Regions from separate parts of the Homo sapiens genome. Here all the other regions are linked to region 3. Evidence: promoter capture Hi-C in human tissues and cell types (Jung and others, 2019). All regions are on one chromosome and are shown on one strand. Each heading gives the region's core, a stretch centred on a gene start or on the middle of the fragment in contact. The rest is flanking DNA. Distances are from core to core; before and after follow the strand shown.

What was found. The method cuts DNA at HindIII sites, captures the fragments that hold promoters and counts their contacts. A contact is called where the count stands out against the background at its distance.
Region 1: a contact is called between a fragment that was not itself captured here and the fragment with the promoter of NFAT5 in region 3, in 1 of the 25 tissues and cell types used here (dorsolateral prefrontal cortex).
Region 2: the fragment with the promoter of SLC7A6 here is called in contact with the fragment with the promoter of NFAT5 in region 3 in 1 of the 25 tissues and cell types used here (liver).
Region 4: the fragment with the promoter of ZFP90 here is called in contact with the fragment with the promoter of NFAT5 in region 3 in 1 of the 25 tissues and cell types used here (hippocampus).

The regions. Positions count from the first base shown.
Region 1 is chr16:68,515,834-68,518,533 of GRCh38, forward strand. LOC105371321 (a long non-coding RNA gene) reads right to left here and starts at 184. Exons shown (of 4, transcript XR_933693.3): 1 at 1-184. The HindIII fragment of the contact is 5,166 bases long and covers 1-2,700 here.
Region 2 is chr16:68,263,238-68,265,937 of GRCh38, forward strand. It overlaps SLC7A6 (solute carrier family 7 member 6), which reads left to right and starts at 1,289. Exons shown (of 11, transcript NM_003983.6): 1 at 1,289-1,339. It overlaps LOC124903704 (a long non-coding RNA gene), which reads right to left and starts at 1,220. Exons shown (of 3, transcript XR_007065096.1): 1 at 1,131-1,220; 2 at 1-177. RefSeq lists a silencer at 1,175-1,454 and an enhancer at 1,827-2,700. The HindIII fragment of the contact is 30,530 bases long and covers 1-2,700 here.
Region 3 is chr16:69,564,621-69,567,320 of GRCh38, forward strand. NFAT5 (nuclear factor of activated T cells 5) reads left to right here and starts at 1,346. Exons shown (of 15, transcript NM_138713.4): 1 at 1,346-1,754. The coding sequence starts at 1,682. It overlaps MIR1538 (microRNA 1538), which reads right to left and starts at 1,248; the gene lies at 1,188-1,248. RefSeq lists an enhancer at 1-310 and silencers at 972-1,351, 1,071-1,247, 1,542-1,811, 1,832-2,141. The HindIII fragment of the contact is 19,415 bases long and covers 1-2,700 here.
Region 4 is chr16:68,538,010-68,540,841 of GRCh38, forward strand. It overlaps ZFP90 (ZFP90 zinc finger protein), which reads left to right and starts at 1,282. Exons shown (of 5, transcript NM_001305203.2): 1 at 1,282-1,470; 2 at 1,749-1,816. The coding sequence starts at 1,784. The HindIII fragment of the contact is 20,432 bases long and covers 1-2,832 here.

The DNA.
Region 1 (2,700 bases), core at 89-2,588, 1.0 Mb before region 3:
ATTACCTCCCGAAGACTCCCACCTCCTAATACAATCACATTGGTGAATTGTGGAGGGACATAAACGTTCAGCCCATGGCAGCTGCTGACACCCGCTCCTAAAGCCCCTTGACACCACCTGTTGGCACCACCACTGCCTACATCCCCAAATGCCAGGCCTGACTTTTCCAATCAACCTTGGCTCTTGTCCCTTACTCCTTGGACCCCTTTCTTAATTTCTGGTCCTGAGACATAGAACACAAAGAACAAGAGCTCTTCTCTCTCAGGGTTGTTGTGAAAATTAAACGAAATAAGAGTTTAAGAGCATAAACTGGGAAATAATAAAGATAATAGATTGTTTGACCTAGATGCAATTGTAGATCATAGAAAATATCGATGAATGTAGACCGGAGATAGGATCTTGTTCTAGAAAGATGCATACGTTTTGAATTGACACAAGAATAAAGTACATTTTAGGCCAGGCAAAGTGGCTCACACCTGTAATCCCTACGCTTTGAGAGGCAGAGGTGAGAGGATCACATGAGACCAGTTGTTCAAGACCAGCCTGGGCAACACAGTGAGATCCCATCTCTACAAAAAACCTTTTAAAAAATTAGCCAGGTGTGGTGTTGCACACTCATAGTCCCATCTACTCAAGAGGCCAAGGCAGGAGGATCATTTGAGCCCAGGAGTTTGTGGCTACAGTGAGCTATGATTGCACCACTGCACTCCAGCCTGGGTGACACAGGGACACCCCTATCTCTTAAAAAAAAGAAAGAAAGAAAACGAATTAGCTGGGCATAGTGGCACCCGCCTGTAGTCCCAGCTTCTCAGGAGGCTGAGGTGGGAAGATCTCTTGAGCCTAGGAGGTTGAGGTTGCAGTGAGCTGTGATTGTGCCACTTCACTCAGCCTGGGCAACAGAGTGAGGCCCTGTCTCAAAAAATAAATTAATTAAATAAAGCACATTTATTTAAAGAAAGAAATTAAATGACATATAAATAATATATGTATAGTCCTACAAACGTGACTCATAAAATATAACTATAAAACAATTTCTATTTGTCTCCCTTTGTCCTTTACACTGACCCTATGGAGTTTCTTTTCCCTTTGTCCCTCATTGAAATTTAGGCTAAGTCCCCTGACAACCCCTTCTTTGCCCCTTGGCCCAGGAGTAACCTTCAGTTTCTTTCTGCCAATGTCTTTTTGTTCTTCCCAGGAGGCTTTTTTTTTTTTTTTTTGAGACAGAGTCTTGCTCTGTTGCCCAGGCTGGAGTGTAGTGGCGCGATCTTGGCTCACTGCAGCCTCTGCCTCTGGGTTCAAGCAATTCTCCTGCCTCGGCCTCCTAGGTAGCTGGGGTTACAGGCGCCGGCCACAATGCCTGGCTAATTTTTGTATTTTTAGTAGAGATGGGGTTTCACCATGTTGGCCAGGCTGGTCTCGAACACCTGACCTCATGTGATCTGCCTGCCTCAGCCTCCCAAAGTGCTGGGATTACAGGCGTGAGCCACGGCGCCCAGCAAAATGTGCCTTTCTGATCTCCACCAACTACCTCCAGGGAGAATAATGTTCCCCTGGTTACATTGTGAGAATGGGTAGGCCAGAGAGGAGAAGGGTACCCCAGCCAGCTCTGGGAATGTGGTGGGTCTGGCAGTGTCCCAAGCAGGCACTGAACAATTCCCACATTGGCTACTCTGCTAGATATTTTGTCCCTTTAAGGATTTACTCATTGATCCCACTGAGAGAAGAATTATGAGGCCACTTGCTCAGTGTGACCAAAGGGGCCACAGAAGTGCCAGGTCAGGAGGCGGAATGAAAACCATACCCCAGAAAACAGAAGAGGAGGAGGCTGGGGAGGAAGGCGGTGGGTGGGTTGGGGGCAGGGAGGACCCTGAAGTCAGTTGCCTTGGGGAGAAACCCAGGGTCTGAAGGTAACCCAGACACTCTGTCCCCAGGGGGAGGGGTCTGGATCCCATTCTCCGAGTGGCCTGGGAGGAGACAGACGGTCTGGGAAGGCGAGGCAGTGCCCTAAGAACAGCCACACCAGCAAGCTTATCTCAGATGATTAAATGGCAGCAGATAAATTTAACTAAACGTGAGTAATGGGGACACAAAGGGGAAGTGAAGAGAAATAGAATATTTTAGCAACATAAGGAAATGAGAAGAAAATGACTTTGCAATGAAATGTCAAACTTCTGTGCCTGGAGGAGATGTAATCTGGTCATTGCAGGCCCAGGAGAGCGGGGGAGTCTGTAGTTATTTCAAGCAAATTTTAATTCACTTTAATTTAATAACATATGACCAAATACCTTTGAGAGAGTGGCAGGGGACAGAACTGGAAATCAGAGAGTGCCAGCCCTGTGAACTGAGGTGTTTCTTATTTGTTTTTTGCAAGAAGCTGTACTTATATTAATTCATTCATTAACCCATTCATTCAGGGCATGAATATTAAAGGCTGAGGATTAATAAAATATACAACTCAGCTTCCCCCCGGCTCACAGGAAATCCTGGCCAGCTAGGAAGACCGACAGATGAACAGAAAGTTGCAATGTAGGGGCCAGGTGCGGTGTCTTATATCTGTAATCCCAACACTTTGGGAGGCCAGTGTGACAGGATGACATGAGGCCAGTTAAAGACCAGCCTGGGCAACAAGCAAGATCCCATCTCTATAAAAAATACAAAAATTAACCGGGCATAGTGGGACACGCCTGTTGTCCTAGCTAC
Region 2 (2,700 bases), core at 39-2,538, 1.3 Mb before region 3:
CCAGAGCTGTCCTTCTGCTCAGCCAGGGAGGCCGGAGGAACTGATCTGGGAGGCAAAGGGTGCAACTCGATTGATCCAAATATATACGTCCACTCACTGACACTTAGGGGAGGGGTTCCAAGCAGAGGGCAGGAGGGCAGCACCAGCGAGGATTCCTCAAGTATTGTCATCCCAGGCCTGCAGAGAGGAGAATGGAAGGGTTTTAGGCAGGGGAGATACAAAGTCATCGCAATCTGTATTCTAGGAGCATCCCCTACTCTGTGGAGATGGGGTAAGGGGAGCAGGATAGGGATTGAGAAGCCGTTGTGGCTGGGGAGAAGAAAACGAGGTATAGGCCGTGGGAGGAGTGGGGAGGAAGGGTCTGAGGTGCTACCCATCTCTGGCTGGGTCCCTGTCACTGGGTGGCAGGGAGCAGGGTCTTGGGTATGGTCTGGAACCAGAGGACGTGTACTTGTGGTCATAAGGCTGGGGGAAAAGATTCCAGGGCCCTGGAGAAAGTCAGTGCTTGAGGTGTGGACAGGAAATTTCGGAGGAGGGCTCAGGCGCCCATGAGGTCAGGAGGCTCTAGACAGAGAGCCCCAGAGCCACCAGAGGAAAAGGAACTCGAGAGAAAGATGGAGGAGCAAACAGAGGGAGGGGAAGGGGGCAGGAGGTGCAGCTCCCCCAAGAGGGGGGGCAGGAGGTGCAGCTCCCCCAAGAGGGGTGGCAGCCCTCTTGGGAAGATGAGGACAGAGCCCCAGGGAGGCCTGGGGTTGGCAAAGGGAGCCTGCAGTTTCTTTGTGGGTGCGGGGGCCTCAAGGGCTACGAGTCTGAGCTGTGCGTGTGTTTGGACAAGTCCCCAGAGTGTGTGTCTTCCTGGGGTTCCTAGACTGCGAGTGGCAGTGGCCCGGCGGCGGAGGCCGTTTGGATCCCTGTGTGAGCTGTAGGGGGCGCCCTGGGCGTCGGGCCCAGGTCAAGTGCGAGATAGGAACGGGGTGCGGGGGCCGATGAGAGCTCCCCGCGGGAATGTCCGCTGTGGACGCCCTCGGAGGCCCCATCTAACTCCAGGGCGGCGAGCGTGGCCGGGCCCAGTTCACGGGCTGCTCGAGCCCTGACGAGGCAGCTGGGGGCTGTCTGGCGTCCACGCTCACGTTCTGGGCCGGCGGACCCCGTACCGGCCAGGCCGTGGCGGCCACGGGGGCCCGGAAGCGCCGCCGCCAGCTGGCCCCGCACGGAACTGTGTCCCGACGCGGCGCGCGCTGTCGCGATCCGGCGGCGGGTGACGTGGCGGGGCGGGGCCTGAGCTGCCGCGGCGGCGGCGGCGCGACCGAGCATCCTGGCGGCGCCGGGCCACTGGGAGGTAACGGGCTGGGCCATGGGCGGGCGCGCCGGGAGCGGGGCCGGGGCTGGGCCGCGTTCTGTGGGAGCCGAACCCTGTGGGTCTTCGCTGCCGCCGTCGGGAGCGGGATGCGGCCCAGAAACAGCGCGGGGCTGGCCGATCGGGGCCGCGCGAGAGGCGCTGCGGGTGAGGGGGGGCGCCACGAGGAGAGAGGGACCTCGAGCGTGAGGGCCGAGTGTGGGAGAAACGCTGTATGGGTGCGAGCCCCGGAGGCTGATGGTGACCGCGAGGGAGCCAGTCTTGGGGTGTGCTGGCGACGCGGCGAGTGTGAGGGAGACCGGGGGTGTGTGTGGAGAGGGAAACCCCAGGTGCGAGGGTGACCGGGACGCTGAGTGCGCGGGCCGCGCCGCGAGCGTGAGACTGTGCGACGGTGACCCTGAGTGGGGCTGTGACTGCGCCTCCGACTGCAGGACGGAGAACCTGTGCTGTGTGGCGGCCGCGGTGGGGCAAAGAAAGACGCGGGCTCAGGACCTCAGGAGCCAGGCTTCCTGGGGCTGTCGCAAGAATGACGATTATCATTTTAAAATCAGTCCTTTTACTTTAGAGAATGCCGCAAGGTTTTGTGGCGTGCTGGAGCCTGGAGCGTTGGGCTGCTGGCGCTGGGGAACCCGCGTGCCCCTGGTGATTATGGCTCTTTTGAGCGTCCCTATAGCCTGTCATCTTGTGTGACTATCTCTCCTGAATGTGGGGAGATAGACGTGAAACATTCTGAAAATTCTTTGCTGGGCTCTAAGCAAACATGTTGTGTAATGGTCAGTATAAATAGGAATCAGGGTGTCGGCGAACACGTTTTTGAGTACCTCTTGTATGCCCTGGGCTTGGTGACACAGTTAAAAAGAATTCAGTCTCTGCCCTTGATAGGGGAAAAAGCCAGGGCAGCTCATCTCGCAGGGCGGCTGTTCAGTGCCCAGCCATCCGGGGCTTGTCTCTCAGAACTGCTCCCAGATTTCAGATCTGGGAGGAGCAGACTTGAAAGGCTGTGAGTACTTCCTTATATCAGTTCCACCTCTTTTTGGTGGCGGTGAGGCCTTTTGGGGACCTGCCCAGGCTGCCTGCATTACTCAGGTCCCATGTGTGCTGCGCAGACGGCTTTTGCTTCCCAACTTTGATCTCAGATCGTTATTCAAGTCGTTACACTGGAGTTTATTTTCCTGGCAAGTGTGTGGAAAACCACCAGCCTGATTTTCTCCTCTCTTCCTCTCCTTGTCCTCCTTCCCTATTTGGCCGTGGATGTATTTTTATTGCATATACCGGTTTTATGATCCCCATCTCCCTGGAACTTCTTAGTAGAAGAAATTTCCTGACCTTTGTGCTTCCTGCTG
Region 3 (2,700 bases), core at 96-2,595:
CACACGTTTAAATTCTAGGTCTACAGGTAAAACTTTGTAAAGGGCCTTGCCTCAGCGACATCTGTACTGGGCCCTCCTTTGCTGAGAGCTTCTTACCCCAACCCTAGCACTCCAAGTCCCGAGAACTGCTCAATTTCATGGGAAAAAGTCTCTATAATTATATATATATGTATATATGTGTGTATATATGTATGTATATATATGTGTGCATATATATACACATACACATATTACAACAGACTGATTTTCATGAGTTGTAACTATCCTTGTAGATAAAAAACGAAACCATTCGAATAGCTTAAAAACCATGCCCACGTGGCTACTGGCATCAATATTCCACACAAGATTAAAATTACTTCCCAAGATGCACACCCTGCACTCCAGGTAATATTTCAATAACTTGATTAAAAATTTCTCAGAAGTCTATTAGAATCAGAAAACGCTCTGCGGTGTGGGTGAGGATTTTAAATTTTTGCAACGGAAACTTTTGGCTCCACGAACAGAAAAGCAAGAGCAAAAACTCAGTTAAATGCGTTCTTCCTCCATCTTTGCCTAGTCCAAAAGGAAAAAAAAAGAAACAGAAAAAAGAAAAACTGTTTGGAAGAGTAGCGTTGAGGTTTGCTTTTTACCTGTTTTTCCTCTAGAACAGCCAGGTGGATTCACATGATCCAATTTTTTAATTGTCTTCTATGTCCCACTCCGAATAACCCGGATGCCCCAGCACAATCAGAGAGATCGTTTTTTTTAAAAAAAATTTCAGCCTCCAAAGGTAGGAGGGGAGTGTTAGGGGAGAAAGTACTTTAATTAAAAATCAATAACTCGAGGTTTTTGGGATACGGTTTGCCATTTCCTAATTAAGAAATGGGTTTGACAGTCCCTTTGTACACACTGCTATGCAAACCCCAAAGGGTTGGCGGCTGTCCGGGCGATGACACTCCGGTCCCCTGCGAGACCCCGGGCCAGCCAGGCCCGTCCGCCGCCGGCCTCTGGGGTCCGTCCCCGGCTCGCGCAGACCTCTCGCTTCTCTCGGCTCTGTCTCCTGCGCTCAGCTCTGCTCGGGGCCGGCCGCCTCAGGCTCGCCGCCACCAGGTCGTTGCAAATACCTTTTCCCTCCCCGGGGCCCCAGCGCGCGGCCACCTCCCAGCCTCCCCCCCTCCCACCCTGGCAGCGGGGCCCTTTCCCGGCTCAGGAACAGCAGCAGCCCGGGCCGCGCCGGCAGGAAGCGAGGCCCATGTTGCTGCTGTTCCCTGGCGCGCCTCCCCGCCCTCCGGGGGCCGCCACGGCTCTTCCGCGCTCCCGGGCACCCCCCTCCGCGCCTGCGCTGTGCCCCACGGGGGCGGGGCTCAGATTCCTGTCAGCGGCGGCGGCGGTGGCGGCGACCGTCAGTTTTCGCTGAGGAGAAACACGAAACGGACCCTTTGGCTCTCCCCCTTCCCCTTCCCCGTCCTGAACCCCTCTCCTGGTCACCGAGAATCAGTCCCCGTGGAGTTCCCCCTCCACCTCGCCATCGTTTCCTCGGTCCTCGGCCCAGTGGAAGTCACTACCCTCGAGGAGGAGGCAGCGGCAGCCGCCCTCGCGTCGCCGCCCCCGGTTCGGTGCCCGCGGTCCCGGAGAGGAGGTGCCGCCGCCACCGCCGCTCCCCCCCTCCCGCTGCCCTCGGGCCGGGCTGGGTCGAGCTGCGATGCCCTCGGACTTCATCTCATTGCTCAGCGCGGACCTAGACCTGGAATCGCCCAAGTCCCTCTACTCGCGAGGTGAGTCAGGCTGTGGGGGGTGGGGCGTGGGGGCGGGGAGACAGGGAGACAGGGAGACAGGGCCAGGGGAGGCGAGGGGTCCCCGTCCCGCCGGGGGCGGCTGAGCCGCGACCCCCATGGCTTCTTTGGCCGGAGCGGGCAGAGGCCGAAGGGATCGGGGTGACGGTGGAGGGGGCGGGCGGAGCAGTGGCGGCCCCTCCCCCGCGGAGCCGCCGGCCGCTCGGGGCCCAGATTCCGTCGGCCCCCGGGGCTCTGCGGCACCGGTCGCTTCTAGCCGCTCTCAGCCCGTCCGGCCCCGCCAGGCTCCGCGAGCCGCCGGCCCCGGCCTCCCGGGCTCGGGGATGGCCCCAGACTGGGCCCCGCGCTGGGGCCACCGCGATCGGGGCGCCGCGTCTTCTCTTACCGGGACCCTCCTCCCCAGCAAAGTTGCCCCCAAGCGGGCGGCGTGGCCTGGAGCCGGTTCTGAGTGCAGGGTCACCATTTTCCTCCCTTTCCAGCTTGTTTTTGCGCCGTCGTTCCACCCCCTCTCCCTCCGGCCTAGTCCACTCCCTCCCCATGTTGGGACAGCCCCCCTCGACCAGGCGTTCTTCCTTTCCTCGTCATCTTCTTGCTGGAAAGGGCCCGATGGAAAGGGCCCGAATTTTCTTTTCTTTTTTTTTCTCTTCCCACCTCCGTGGCATTCTAATTACTTCTCCCTTCTCCTTTACAAAGATGGGGGTGCCCTCTCTGGATTGGTTTTATTCCTCTCCTCTCCCAGGAGGACCAGCCCAGGCACAGACGCTGTCCTTTGAGAATTTTCTCTGCTTTTCCGTTCAAGGGCTGGTTGCAGGGAGGGAGCTCAGGCAGAGACTTTTCATTTAAGAACTCTTTTGGCTAAGGCCTGCAGGGGATTCCCAGCATCTGAAATATTAGCACTGGAGCTGATCCCTACTCAGGTGAAATTCCT
Region 4 (2,832 bases), core at 32-2,531, 1.0 Mb before region 3:
TCAAGCGATTCTCCTGCCTCAGCTTTCTGAGTAGCTGGGATTACAGGCATGCGCCACCAAGCCTGGCTAATTTTGTATTTTTAGTAGAGACGAGCTATCTCCATGTTGGTCAGGCTGGTCTCGAACTCCTGACCTCAGGTGATCCGCCAGCCTCAGCCTCCCAAAGTGCTGGGATCACAGGCTTGAGCCACCGCACCCGGCATAAAGCATTTATTTTTGAATGTTCATATTTTTGATAAAGCAGTGTGACATCAGGAACATTTCGTTGCAGTCATTTTCTACCATGTTGGTATGCAATGCTCTAATGTTAAGAAATCAAGCTGAAATCTAGGAAATGTAGCCTGAATGTCTGTGATATATAAGACATAATTACATAAACGTAATAGCTGTATCTAAAAGTTGACCTATCTTTGTGTTGAAAATTTCCATCGGGCCGGGCGCGGTTGCCCATGCCTGTAATCCCAGCACTTTGGGAGGCCGAGGCGAGTTCGAGACCAGCATGACCAACATGGAGAAAACCTGTCTCTACTAAATATACAAAATTAGACGGGCCTGGTGACGCATCGCATGCCTGTAATCCCAGCTACTCGGGAGGCTGAGGCGGGAGAATCGCTTGAACCCAGGAGGCGGAGGCTGCGGTGAGCCAAAATCGCGCCATTGCACTCCAACCTAGGCAACAAGAGCGAAACTGTGTCTCAAAAAAAAAAAAGAAAATTTCCATCATTGTTTGCTTGTCCCAAACAAAATCCTGCGTAAGGGGATACGAAGTAATGAAATAACACGGCAGTAGATCTGCCTTTGCACATTGCTCAGGAGGCCACGGATTTGTCCGAAGTTTCTTTTTTCTCTAAAATGAGAAATGGAAAATTGCCTTTTGAAGAAGATGTAAATGCCCCACCCTCTGACGCTGTCTCACTCCCTTCCTGTGTCACTCTTACCGCTGAAGTCAGGACCTGACATTATCTTGTTGACATGTTTGCGTTTTTATCGTCAGCCTCGTCGAAAGGGGCGTACGATTGCTCCCCGAAACCAGGGTCTTTCCCGGCCGATTCCCCAGCTAGCAACAAGCCCCTTGCAAAGAGGAGGCGGACAGTGACTGGAATACAGGGACACGCACACTCGAGCCACACTGGCCGCCTCCCTCGGCCCTCGCAAGGGTCCCTAACGCGCCTTCGGAAGCCGCCTAGGCGGGGCCTGCGCGCGCGGGCCTCTGGGAAGTGTAGTTCGCGCGCCCGGCGTGGACCCGGGGTTGCAGGAGCGAGGCTCCGAGTGCGCAGGCGCACTTCCAGTTCTGCCCCACCGCTGCGGCCATTGTCCGACCCCGGTGCGGCTGAGGCCCCTTTGGGCAGCCCCTCCGCAGATCAGAATTGGAGATAACCGAGGCTTCGGCGGGGGCGGGAGGAGCTGCCCGAGGCTCTGGGTGGGCCGGAGGTCGCGAAATCCGGAGCCCCCCAGAGGCGGTGATTCTGAGTGCGCGGGTCTGGGCGGGACCCCTCCTGGGTTTGGCGGGTGTCAGCCGGGCCTCGCCCACCACCCTGCGAAGGGGACTGGGCGTGGCCGGAGGGGGGTGTCCGGGAGGCCGCTGAGCCTTTCATTTCGGGGATGGGGAGCGGCAGGCCCGGGCTGGTTCCACGGTCCTCGCCACCATCTCCCCTGGAGATGTGGTTTAGGGGCGGAGGTGGGGCGGGGCGGGGCGGGGTGGGGTCGGTGTTGCAGCGGGGTGAGTGGGCCCTGTCCTTTCTCCCCAGCTCCTGCCCCGGAGCCGGGCCCTGGCGAGGCAGGAATGGCCCCGAGGCCTCCGACCGCCGCGCCCCAGGTGAGCAACGCGTTCCTAACCTCCTGGGCATCCCATCCATCTATCCATCCCATCTCCCAAGGGTGTTTGGAGCAGTCATTGTTCTCTGCCTGGCGACTCCCTTACTTGCTTGGCTCGATCGGAGCCTCCTGGCCATGGAAAACCCCAGGCTTTGGGGAGCTGGATTCCCAAAGGGGAGGCTGCTCTGTGGGGTAGAGAGGGCCAGTGTGGTGCGATCTTGTGGGAGGAGTTGAGATTGGATGCGTTGGGAAGTGTCAGTTTTGAGAGTCCTGAATGCCACGCCAGTTTTTTGAACTCTTGTCAATAAGAAATGGAGAGAGTGGGGTCACAGGATGGAACACTGTAGAGGAGGAAGTGACTGTCGGCAAGTGTGGAGAGAGGAGCCCCAGCTTCTGACCCAGGGCCCATAGAGAGTCCGTAAGGGGCCGTAGAAGCCTGGTTAGAACATGTCTAGGAAGAGGCTGGAGATGGGCTTTCTTGGGCAAGGAGGCAAAAACAAAACAAAATAAAAAACAACCAAAAATAAAACCAGGGCTGATTCTCCCAGAGCTTTTTGTGTCTGTCCTTTTCTGCTTTAACAAAAATGTAATAGAGCAACTCACTCCCCACCGCCAGAAGTCCAGCCTTCACCTTAATGTGAGGCTGATTCGTGAACCCATTTATTCTTGTGGCAGAGGGGGCATTTTCTAGAAGCGTCACAACTCTAAGGTTATCCATTGATTTACATATTGGTGAAAATACATCAAGATCCAGATGGTATCTGTATCTTTGAATCTACATTCTCTTTAGAATTAAGGGAAAATGACAGATTGTAGTTGCTAGGTGTGTGAGACATCAAGATCAATTCAAATAAAAATACCAAGTTGCCAGGTACAGTGGGTCACACCTGTAAGTCCAGCACTTTGGGAAGCTGAGGCAATAGGATCGTTTAAGCCCAGGAATTTGAGACCAGCCTGGGCAACATAGTGAGACTCCGTCTCTGCAAAAAAAAAAAAAAAAAAAAAATTTAAAAGATA